Regions from separate parts of the Homo sapiens genome. Here region 2 is linked to region 1. The links are contacts of gene promoters, found by promoter capture Hi-C in blood cells and fetal thymus (Javierre and others, 2016). All regions are on one chromosome and are shown on one strand. Each heading gives the region's core, a stretch centred on a gene start or on the middle of the fragment in contact. The rest is flanking DNA. Distances are from core to core; before and after follow the strand shown. Region 1 holds the start of CBR4 (carbonyl reductase 4). Region 2 holds the start of PLRG1 (pleiotropic regulator 1).

Region 1 (5,955 bases), core at 968-3,467:
AGATTCATCTAATATTTATAGCTTTAACACTGAATTCATGCTACCCAATTCGACAGTCTTCTGGGTTTTATATTCCTTTTTTGAAATTTATGTCTAATTCTGTCAGGTTTTTGTTGAATTAGTTTCTTTGGCCCTGAACGGGAACTCTTGGGTTTCTTCTTTTTAAGTGCTACGGATGCACTATGGCACATATATTATAACGACTATTATTCAAACCTGACCATCAGGAGAGATGAGACAACACAGGAAGCTATAAAAATGCTAAAACTACAAACCACGGGGGGAAAAAAACACTTTTTACTAAAAGCAACTGTTACTTACCACTTTTAAAAAATGGTTAAATGCCAAAAAAAAACTACACTTCAAAGGAAAACAAAGCATTCCCTATGTAATCTACCATTTTAATACTCTAAAATGTAGGATTGTTTTTAAAAGCTAAAACAATTCTTTATTTTCTGTCTGACCTTGATAAATATGCTTACACCAACACTACCCCATCAAGCCTTTGGAAACAGTAAGCGACCCGGGGAATTATACTTTCTAGATGAAAACCAATCACTCATGGAACACGATTCAAAGGAATGCAGGGCCCAAAAGCATCCTGTGTCTCTCTTACTCTTGGTTTTCACCCGAAGACTTGTGTCCACAACCACCTTTGAAAGCCCAACTAATGGCTTCAATCCAGTCCAGCAAACACTGATGGCTTGGGGTGACACAGTAAGGGTCACCACTCTTCCCCTCCTTTGTTAGAATGGTAAGGAATATGAGCTTCAAGAAGCATTCACTGACACTCTCCCTGACCTATAACTTACAGAATCTTTTTTCTTTTAGAGAGCCCAATAGTCTCCCAACCAGCACTGAACAGGTGATACCAAACCGATCAATAATGTTAACTTAAAAATGAACAGCCACACCTGGCGTCTATAGTCCCAGGTCCTTGGGAGACTGAGGCGAGAAGATCTCTAGAGCCAGTAAATCAGGAGTTGGGGTCCAGCACGGGCAACATAATGGGAAGCCCTCTCAAAAAAAAAAAAAAAAAACCAGATACACAAAAACAGTAAGAGCCACAAGACGCACCCCTAGGCCTCTATTCTCCCCATGCCTCCCTGATAGTAAATGAAGTATAATTTTGTCCATTCTGGTGATTAAACAAATAGCATCTTCGGATCTAACGTCCTATTTCTCCCTAAACTCAATGAAGAGTTATATTCACAAAATGACTAATCCATTCATAATAAGCCGGAAATAAAAAACCCTGAAGTTTAAATGCAATAAAAAAGAATTTGGCAGAACAAAGTTCAATTGTCCATTTGCAAAACTCACCAAAACAATTTAATAACATTAAAGCAAACCAGGTATATCTCAAAACTGGCTGGTACTCAAAAGGGTTTCTCTATCAAACACTGCTTTGTGCATTCGCGCAGGGCCAAGGCACGGCCCTTGGGCAAAACTGAAGGGAGCCGTTGGTACCTGCACTCCCACCTTTCCTGCCTGAACTCCTTTCGACCCAGCCCTGTCTCCGGGGGCCGAGAACTCGCCCTTTTCCCTACATTAAAAGTAAACTGTTACGTGGCTCTCTCCCACAACAGGGAAGCTCCTCAGCGTTAGCACTAGCCGCAGGGCGGAGGGTGCGTATAGCGGGGCCTCAAAAGACTACGAGGTCTCAAAGAACACCCCAAGTGTTCAGCCCTCGGCGGCAAGCTGCGTGGCCGGCATTCTGCGAGGCATAGGGAGATCGCGGGTTTCTGCACGAGACGCATTCTACCCTTGGAACGGGAGAGCGCCTGCACGCGGCTACATCGAGTAACCCTAGAGCCCTAAAGGCCAGACCCGCTCTTTTTACAAAGGAGATTTTCTTTAGGCGCCTGGACCGCGGCCATACAACTGGACAACTCCAGTTTGGTACCTACCGCCGAGGTCACCGGCGGCGGCTTTGGCCCCTTCCAGGTTTCTGGCAATGACCGCCAGTCGGTAGCCTTTCCGGGCCATTAACTGGGCCACAGCTCTGCCAATGCCTCGGGAGCCTCCAAAAACAGCACACACTTTGTCCATCTCGGAGTCACAAACTCGGAGGAAAGAGGGTAGGGAGTGGGAGCCCCTCTCCAGGTTCCCTCAGGCTTTTAAACAACCGCGGTTCCAAAAAAAAAAAAAAGAAAAAAAAAGGCAAACCGCAAAAAAAAATAACGCCGCTCGACACCTCCTGCAGCCGCACAATAGTAATGCAAGACGCCGTGAAAAGGAGGAAGAGCTCGACGTCGCCGCGTCGACGTCATCACGCACGGACTCTTCCGCGCCACACCTAACAAATACGCCGACGAGAGCTCCCCGCCGGCGGAAGAATGGCCTGGAGAGGGCCTCGATGCTTGCTGGGACCTGTAGTCTTGACGCATGAGAGCAACTGGCGCAGGCGCGCTGCTCGGTGGGGAATGTACTTGTGGCACTGAGGGGGATCCTCTGTCCCCGCTGGGTCATATCAGTCGGGATTCGAGCCCCGGTGACCAATCGACCCGGTTTGTTCGGAACTGACAGGGTTGTCAAGACGCTGGGCTTTCCCTGGCAAACCAAGACGACCTGATCACGTAGTTAGAACCCAGAGAAAGCATTACTGGGCGTGAGCCGGTCGGGGCTCCGGTATTTGCCCTTCGCCCAGGTGTTGTTTTGGCTACAGACTTGATGTCCTACCTGTTGAAGAAGTCCCCAAGAATCGCACCCACACCAAAACCTACCCTACCTGTTCCTCCCCCAGGTTGCTGTAGAAATGGACCTCTACCCGCCCAGATGTTACCATTCATCGCGAAGGGTGTCGTGAAGATGAATGCCCTGTCGAACATCATCCAGCAGGAGGTCAAGGAATTTTAACTGAATGATTGAATAGTCTTGCAAGATCTATGAAACAAGCTTCGGCTGCTGTAGAGAAACAAAAATGGGTTCCTGCAATTCTAAATAAGATGTACTGGGTGCTCTGAGAGTTAATAAGCTAAAAAATTCAATGTTTGTTACAATTATAGTGTAAACAGAAAGCATTTCTGATACAATATTATTTTACTAGATTCAGAAAAGTATGAGCCATGGTCCCTACCACTAAAAAAACTACAACCCAGAACTACAGGACTAATACACATGAAACACTAGGAGGTATCCAAAATCATACTTAGTAAAATGCAAAATTATATTAACACAAGAGCTCCGAGAAAATGGAGATCAGTGAAGAATGAAGGGGTGCATGGAAAAGCTGGATTTGAGGGCTGGATGAGGTTTGAAAAAAGGAAAACAAGAGCAAAAAGTCTATAAATAAGCAAGTTGAGCATTAATTTAAATTTGTTATTCCTATTCCATTTAGATCCAAAAAAAGATTTGAAATGGTTTGCAAAAATACATGAGTATTTGAATTTAAAAGGCAAAGAGGACCACTGCCCCTTCTCCCACAAGGCCAGAACAATAAATTAGGTCAGTGGAAAAAATACGAATAAAGTCATGCTATAAGAATCTATTTAGTATTAAAGAAGAGATTCATAAACTTAGAGTTTCCTGCCAGCGAAAGCAACAAAGGAAATATAATTACAAGTGGTAATTTCTGTAAGAAATCAGCCTCCTGGTTATGCAGCAGAGAAGCCTGAGCAAAACTCCCTCCTCATAGGTCCTCCTAAATGGCACACTAAGCATTGTAGTAGACAGTGAGCTTCATGAAAAGAAAAAGAGATTGTAAGGCTGTTTTCATAGCATCTATTAGACTTTATTAAAAGCAAATACAATAGGAAGTTAAACAATATAAGCAAACAGTCACACATAAAAATTGTGTCTTTGAAACAATATATGTTTGAAACAATGAGGAAACAAGCCTGAGGAAATTTGGGATGGTGCTATATTATAGTCAGCTTTAAAGTCAGGTGCCAAGCATTAAACAGGCCTTTAACTGCAGAAGTAATAAGATAAGAGCTGCATTTAAGAACTATTAGCAGGCCAGGCGTGGTGGCTCATGCCTGTAATCCCAGCACTTTGGGAGGCTGAGACAGGAGGATTGCTTGAGTCTAGAAGTTCAAAACCAACCCAGGAAACACAGCAAGACCCCCACCCCCCCGACCCCCATCTCTACAGAAAATACAAAAAAAAATTAGCTGGACATGGTGGCCTACCTGTGGTCCCAGCTACTCGGGAGGCTGAGTTGGGAGGATCATGTAAGTCCAGGAGGTCAAGGCTGCAGTGAGCCATGATTGCACCACTGCAGTCCAGCCTGCATGACACAGCAGGACCCTGTCTCAAAATAACAGTGTTCTAAAAAACAAACAAACAGTTTCCCAGTGATGTAAAAATGGGTCAGATCAAATTTGTCTATTCACTTTCCTACTATACACTATGCAATCTTGGAAAGAAAAAACTGTTTTACATAAATTACCAATATAAGGGTCAGCCTAAATGCCAACTGTATTCCTGCACCTTAGGTCAAACCAGAGAGGTTTATCTTTTGAACAGTTCTCTCCATTTGCTAGGAAAATGATTATTTTTTTTTCTACACATTGTTATTTTAGCAAAAAAAAATGGTTTTTAGATCTATGCCATCTATCATGAAGATCACTAACACATGATATGAGGTGACATTCAGAATTCTGAAAACCTTCCAACTTTTCTCACTGTATATATACTGTAAATGGATAAGCTGGGCTTTTTATTCAACACATACCTCAGGTTAAACCTCAAGGTTATTATTTATTTTTTTTCCCTCTTAATACAATATCACCACTATCCCGGGTGAGAATACATCTATCACAGCACATCACCCATTAGCTGAGAAGGTTACAGCAGGGGAAGTTTCTCTGTAAGCCCCTGATAGTGAAGTGAGGATCTGTAAATTAAACTGGGTCTCCCCTACCCAGCAGGACATTGAAGGAAGCCATTAGAATGACCCACCTTTAGTCTTTCCTTCTCACTAAACATGCCACTTTTGTGGTAATATTTTAACCATATGTTATACTTTAACTTAAATCCACATAGGATATATTTTCTCTTGGCTCCCACAATCGAAGGAGAAAATTCCTTATGTATAAGGACTGTTATACAAATTTTTAAATATGCATACCTAGTATTACTTTTCTGATTACAAAAGGAATACCATTTAATTGCTAACAGTTAGAAAACATAAACTTTTTAAAGTAAATAAAAACTCATTGAAAGCATTGTACACTTTAAGCGTGTGAATTGTATCGTATGCAAATTATATCCCAATGGAACTGTTATTGAAAAAGATGTAATTTAAAGCCTACTGCCCTGTTATACGAAATTTGAATCTGCAACTAATTATAAGGGGGTTGTACCTTTCATGAATATTTTTTTCATACGTCAAGATTTATAATGCCCAAGATTCCAAATATGCAGGAAAATTTATTTATAAGAAATTTATGAATTATGATTGAATATTCATTGAGAATCCTCTTTACAAATGCACCATACTAAGCACATCCAGCTTATCAGATCCATAATTGAAGCATAACCCTTCCTGCCAGCAAGCAGTCTCCCAGGATTCTTCAGGCAGTGATGATAATCTGCACGACCCAAATTGCATGTGGCCAGCTAACTTCTCCATACAGACCATGCTCTTCTTTCAAGAAGAAAGATTAGAAAGCTGCCTTAGTGTGGCTGCACAGATATAACTTTTATGATTAAAAAGCATGTTGATTTCCTCATTGGCATTCTTGTATCCAATCTGCTGGGTAATCTAAATTGTAAGGAATGTACTTTTTATCACTTACAAAAGTTTATTTCATTTTGATTGGGAACAAAAAATGTGGCCCATGAGCTTGTTATTTTGTTGAATTGGCGTTTATGCCTCTGAGGCTGCCCACCGAGACCTAAACCTGGCACTCAGTTGCCTAAGGCAGAAGCATGGAGTTTATTCCTTCCCTCTCTCAACATCCCACATCCAATCAGTCACAAAGTCCTGCTGATTCTACTCCCTAAATA
Region 2 (5,955 bases), core at 1,941-4,440, about 14 Mb before region 1:
TTGATCACTTTTGCTTTGATCTCTGTAAACCATGTCCTTGACCATTTGCTATATAGCAATGGTATACAAAGAAGCCCTCCTATCAAGTGACAATCCACTCTGGTATTTCTTCCAAGCAAATGGTTTCCTGTGGAATCTTGAATTCTCTTTACTTATTAAGATTTCAGTATTTAATTTCATCTTTCTGAATTACAGACAAGATAGATGGTGTCCTCACAGGTTAAGAATATTCTCCAATTTTTTCCTTTAATCTCTACTGTGACCTTCTCCACACTCTAAGAATCTCTGCCATCATTATACTACCATTTTTATTTCCTATAAGAAAAAAGTCATCAACAGTATTCCCATGAGGATCAAAACTTCCATTATAATACAGGTACGGCCATTAAATACTGTACGACCACAATAAGTCCTGCCAGGAGGGGCAAAAATAACATATTTTATTTTTCTGTTTTTAAAATTCACATATAAGTCTGACATTTCTGATAATACCATACTCACCTTGATTGGCAGGGTACTGTTTATGAACATATGAATCCGTTGCATTCTGAGGACCCTTCTCTTTAAGATTTTCTTTTGAAGTAGGCATATGCAACACAGGACCATACTCATTACGAAGCTTGATTGCCATTTTTCGTTTGTGACTATTTAGAAATTATAAACATAAGAACGTATCCATAAATACTTTAAAACAAACACTTAGCTTAAGTTTGCCCATTCACGTAGAAAAAGTTTCTAGTATGATTTTAAGTAGTATTTAAAAGAATCAAAAATTTCCAAGGGCATTTCCCCACCATATCTGTTCTTTTGCTTACATTCGACCACACAGCATTCATTAAACCTACGTAATATTTTAGTTTGTTACCTAATAAATAGAAAACCTTTTATGATAAATTGTCAAGGGTCTGACTGAAAGATATACAGAAACTAACATACCCTTTAAGAAACCTCAAAGTCAATATACTTTCCTTCAAAATATAAATATAGTAAAAACTCTATAGCAACCTTTACTAGATGTATCCAAACAGGTTAGTTAGAACTAATCAAAGTACTTAATTGGTTCAATATCTTAAAAAGAAATGCATTTATATTACTTTTAAAAATAGTCTACTTTATAAATTAAATATAAATGCTTGTTTGAGGAGTTAAGTAGATTTTAAAAAGGTAAAGGACAAAGAAGGAACACTGCACATAATGCATTCCCAGACTGGAGCTGGATATGTAGAACCAAAAATATGCCACCACTCAAAAATCTTCATCATACTAACGAGAAAAGATGGGAGTAGAGGTACTAGCCAGGTACAATTTCAGCTCAGCAAGGCTCTGAGAGCAGCGGGAAGCTGAAAGCACATACAAAGTGATTGATTATAAAATAAAATACCTAAAAGGGACTCTCTTAATTACTGGGTATTTGTAAAATGCAATTAATTAATGGAACTTTTACTGTAAAAGGCCAAAAAAAAAAGTTAAATCAGCTTAAATTATGCCAAAACACCACTCATTATTGAATAATTAGCCCATGACTAGCTTATCTTTAAAGGACTCCCTCTCCCTGCTCTCTTCCCCTAGTATTAGAATGTTAAGTATTTTAGCAATTGAAAAAAAAAAACTACACCAACCTCTCTTCATCTAAAGGCACAGGTTTTCCATTATCAGCTACAAACATGTCATGGGTCCTCTTCAACGACCTGAACACAAGGGTGTGTACAGAATGTTTCTGTACCTCCTAAAAAAAAAGAATGTAATTACACACCTATCTACAAATTACACAAATCATAACCTAAAGTCAGATTGATTATACACTTCACGTGTTTAAATATGTAAAAAGCTTTATACCACTCACCATAGCTACTTGTTGCAAGCTACAGGAGTCAAGTTCAGAGAAGAGGAGGAAGCTCCTCTTTGGCTAGAACCTCAGGTTTAGCAACTGAGTGATGCCGGAGTTTAACTTACTCAATAAATATTTACTGAGCTCCTACTGTGTGTCTGGCAGGTATTGTGCTAGAATCTCACAATAGAATGATAAAAAGGTGGTCATGGTCCCTGTGCTCAAGAGGAAACAGACAAATAAAAAGTAAAATAATTCCACATTTTGATAAGTGCTATGAAGGCAACAAGCAAGGCGCTGAGTCAGGGAATGAAGGACTAAGTATAATTGTGAAAGATTTCACTAAGGTGATATTTAAGCAGAAAGGGAGTTAGCCTTGCACAAAACAGAGGTAAGAACGAACCAGGCTGATGGAAATGTCATGTAAAAAAAAGTTCAGTTAACTGAAATAATACAAGGAGCGCAGTACAGCTGTGTATGGAGGATGAGATGGTGCTTTGTAGCTGCAAGGGTAGACAAGGTCCAGATTAGGTAAGGTCTTTTAGACTATTACAACAGCCTATATTTTGTTCTAGCAACATAGGGTCAGTAAAGGGTTTTAAACAAGAAAGGTATGAACAACTTACGTTTTAAACAGAACAACTTATAGAACAAAATGGAAGCAAGGAAACCAACCAACGGGGAGCTAATGCACCAGTCCAGGTGAAAGATGATGTTGGTCTCAATTAAGGTGGACTGCAGCGGATATGGAGAAGAGTGAATGGAATCAATAAACATGTGGGGTAAGATGGACAAGACCAGCTAACAGCGTTGGCTGTTCATGCCAGGGAAAGATGTAAAGAACGGCAAGTTTTTCTGGGGGTAGAGGTGAAATAAGAGACGACCTGAACGCAAGATAGAGAAGACTACCAATCTTTTAGGGCACAGACTCACTGACACTGCCCCGAGGGCGGCAAGTACCAGTGGTCGATCACCAACAGAGGCCCCGCCTCCGAGGACACTTTCCAGCTCCCAAGAGTCAAACGAGGACTGGACGAATTATCTCAGGCTTCGCGCCCAGGCTGAACCTCCGACTCGGGTTCTCATCCGGCTTCTACCCCTTCCCCGAAAACCCGAAGAAGAGACCACTCGGCCTTGGCCAAATAGCTCCCCTCGTAGCCTCTTTTCTCTCTGGACTCCAAGTACTCTCAATCCCCCACGCGCACTGCCAAAAAAAACAGTCCAGAGACAAACGACTCTTGAGAGCCCCAGTGTCACTTTACCTCGACCATGATGCTACCGTGTATCCCACCTCCGGCAGGGAAGAAACTCTAATCACTAACGCAGTACCCGCCGCCACAGCTGTGCAGCACCTTCCGGAATTGGGCGCCCAGGCGGCGGATGTGATGCAAGCTCTGCGCACGCGCGCTAGTCTCCCTCGGCCATCTAGGATCAGGAGGCGGGTCTCCCTCCTCGGGACCGCCTCTAGGGCGGAGTCTCGAGGCTGAAAGCCGGAGACTCCTGGAAGGGCCTGGGTGGAGGGTTTCACTCGTCCCTCTGAAGAAATCTTAGAATTATGTTTTCTGCCTTAGTTGGGGTCCTGGTTGTTCGTGCTGTATTCCCCGGAAGCTTAACGCTTTTTATTCAGAGAACCTAAGCGTCTGGAGAGCAAACTCCCGTGGGCTCTATCTAAGGCATTTCCACTACCTTGATCTCTTTGGAGGTCGCCTGCGTGCTTTGTGTCTCCTGGTTCTAATCCTGGCGAGAAGCACTTGGACACTTGTAGGCTTAACACCTGAAAACAATTTCGCTTAAACAGTCCAGTAAACACTTGTTAAGTGAACGTTGAGGAATAGCTGTTTTAATTTGGAAAATTTTGACATGTAGTTATAACAAAACCCCATATTTATTTTCTGCTAATAGATTTTTTTTTTTAATTTCTCAAAACTGCATAGCTCTTGTCCATTTCCTAGTTGCCTGCTGATTATTGTGGCTTCAACAATGCCAGGGTACAGCTTTTCAAAGCTGGTAGAAGACACAATTGGAGACTTTAGCCATTTTTATTTATACATATCCTTGTGCCAAGTATTGGTATTTTTGCTTTCTACCCTGGTAAAATCTGTGGTTTGTGATCAACCCTACCCAATTATTTTTCTATGTAAAAAAAAAAATGGATGGACTTAGGCATTTACAAACTTAAATAGACAAACATTTTACTGGCCCTGTTTCAGTTTCACTAATCCTGTCCTGAGAGCATACTGCTTACACTTTGAGAGGGGGAAAAAATCTAGCAAAAGAATAGCAATATAAATCAACCTTACTTGGAAATTCATTAAAAACATTAAGGTCATGGGTTTTTGTTTGAGACAGAGTTTCGCTCTTGTCGCCCAGGCTGGAGTGCCATGGCGCGATCTTGGCTCACTGCAACCTCAGCATCCCAGGTTCAAGCTATTCTCCTGCCTCAGCCTCTGGAGTAGCTGGGATTACAGGCGCCCGCCACCATGCCCGGCTAATTTTTGTATTTTTAGTAGAGACAGCGTTTCACCATGTTGGCCAGGCTGGTCTTGAACTCCTGACCTCAGGTGATCCGCCCGCCTCGGCCTCCCAAAGTGCTAGGATTACAGGCATGAGCCACTGAGCCCTGCCTTAAGGTCATGTTTTTACTTGAAGATACAGCATCTCTGAATTTAACTGTGAGTTTGGCCTAAGAATTGCTTTTCTGTAAAGGTGGCAGGTGATGGTATTTCCTTGCAAGAAAATACCATAATTGTAAAATATATACTTGATGAACTAAATAATATACTCACCTATTAATAATAACTATAGAAAATAACATGATTTGAAATGACAATAAAACCATAGAAACCTAAGCAAGACTAATATATATGGCAATATATTAATTGTCTAGTTGGATCTATTAACTTTTTACATATTTAATCATCCTGGAGACATTAATTTAATTTCTCAATAACAACATGGTAATGATTGAGGTAAATTGCCTCGAATTTGCTCCTTTTAAAACACTGTCGTGAATTTATAGAATGATGTCATCCCCTTGAAAGTTTACAATATTTTAGATAAATATAGAACTCAAGTGACCCTATTATTTAGTTCAGGGATTCATGAATTATGTATATTGTAGGAAAATTTTGTATTTATATGGGAATATGTTTTATTTTCTGGAGAAAGGATCCACAAGTTTAATTGGATTCCTGAAAGGCTCCGTCATACACACATGGCCTGGCTGACACCCGAAGCTGCCTTATTTGAACAGCAGGTGTCACCACTGCTCTTTGTACGGGCCCTCAGGGCTGTCCTTAAAGCAGACACGGCAAGTAACTTATTAATATAAATTATTAGTATTATGTCTGTGTAAAACCAAGAATACAAGTTTTAAGGAAAGCCCTCCTTCTTTAGGCAAGATTTTTTAAACTCACCAATACAGAAACTCTTTTTATTCTCCTTCAAATATTGTCCTTTGCTCTTGAACAGTGATAGGTCATATGAGTATAGATTTGAGTGCCATTTTCATCAGCTTTTTATGATATTTTTATAGGAAGTGTTTTCTGATTCTTATAAAATAATAAATATTACTATTTATTTTTCTGTTTCAACTTAGAGGGTTAAATATACAAGCTTTAAAAAACACTATATGCAATGTTCTTTAGAGTTGTGTGGCTCAGTATGTCCATCCCTTAAATTTCATATTTGAAATTGTTCGTTAATTCAAAAGGAAGTAATCATGGGAGTTATCACTGTTTATTTGAATTTCTGAGGTCAAAACCTGTGAAAAATGATACTTGGACATTTCTTCCAAAACTTTGGTCTTTAATTGTTTAGCACAATGCTATGAATTTGCCTAAATACTAAGGTAGTGTTAGCAGATACTTTCTTGTAGCATAGTTGAAACAAGCTTCTGGGACTATAAGGAACAGTGAAGGGGCTGTTCTTCCTGTTAATGCCTGGAAAGACTTTGGGAATAATTAGATTGTACTATCAGTTATAAACTGTCAGTTATAAATATCTTAGCAAGGTGTATGTGTGTGTGTGAGAGAGAGAGAGAGAGTCCTCGGGTCTTACTTATCACAATTTCACCATCCTCTACTACATGAAGCCCCATCTCATGTGTATTAGTTTGCTAGGGCTGA

Evidence for each region. The method cuts DNA at HindIII sites, captures the fragments that hold promoters and counts their contacts. A CHiCAGO score of 5 or more calls a contact.
Region 2: the fragment with the promoter of PLRG1 here is called in contact with the fragment with the promoter of CBR4 in region 1 in 1 of 17 cell types (activated CD4 T cells); the score reaches 6.2 in activated CD4 T cells.

Annotation. Positions count from the first base shown.
Region 1 is chr4:169,008,038-169,013,992 of GRCh38, forward strand. It overlaps CBR4 (carbonyl reductase 4), which reads right to left and starts at 2,218. Exons shown (of 5, transcript NM_032783.5): 1 at 1,911-2,218. The coding sequence starts at 2,052. CBR4-DT (CBR4 divergent transcript) reads left to right here and starts at 2,392. Exons shown (of 2, transcript NR_185919.1): 1 at 2,392-2,419; 2 at 2,747-3,023. RefSeq lists enhancers at 1,219-2,168, 2,268-2,597. The HindIII fragment of the contact is 6,180 bases long and covers 1-2,896 here.
Region 2 is chr4:154,547,210-154,553,164 of GRCh38, forward strand. PLRG1 (pleiotropic regulator 1) reads right to left here and starts at 3,191. Exons shown (of 15, transcript NM_002669.4): 1 at 3,091-3,191; 2 at 1,620-1,726; 3 at 502-644. The coding sequence starts at 3,099. RefSeq lists enhancers at 3,295-3,344, 3,365-3,524, 4,908-5,202. The HindIII fragment of the contact is 1,608 bases long and covers 1,827-3,434 here.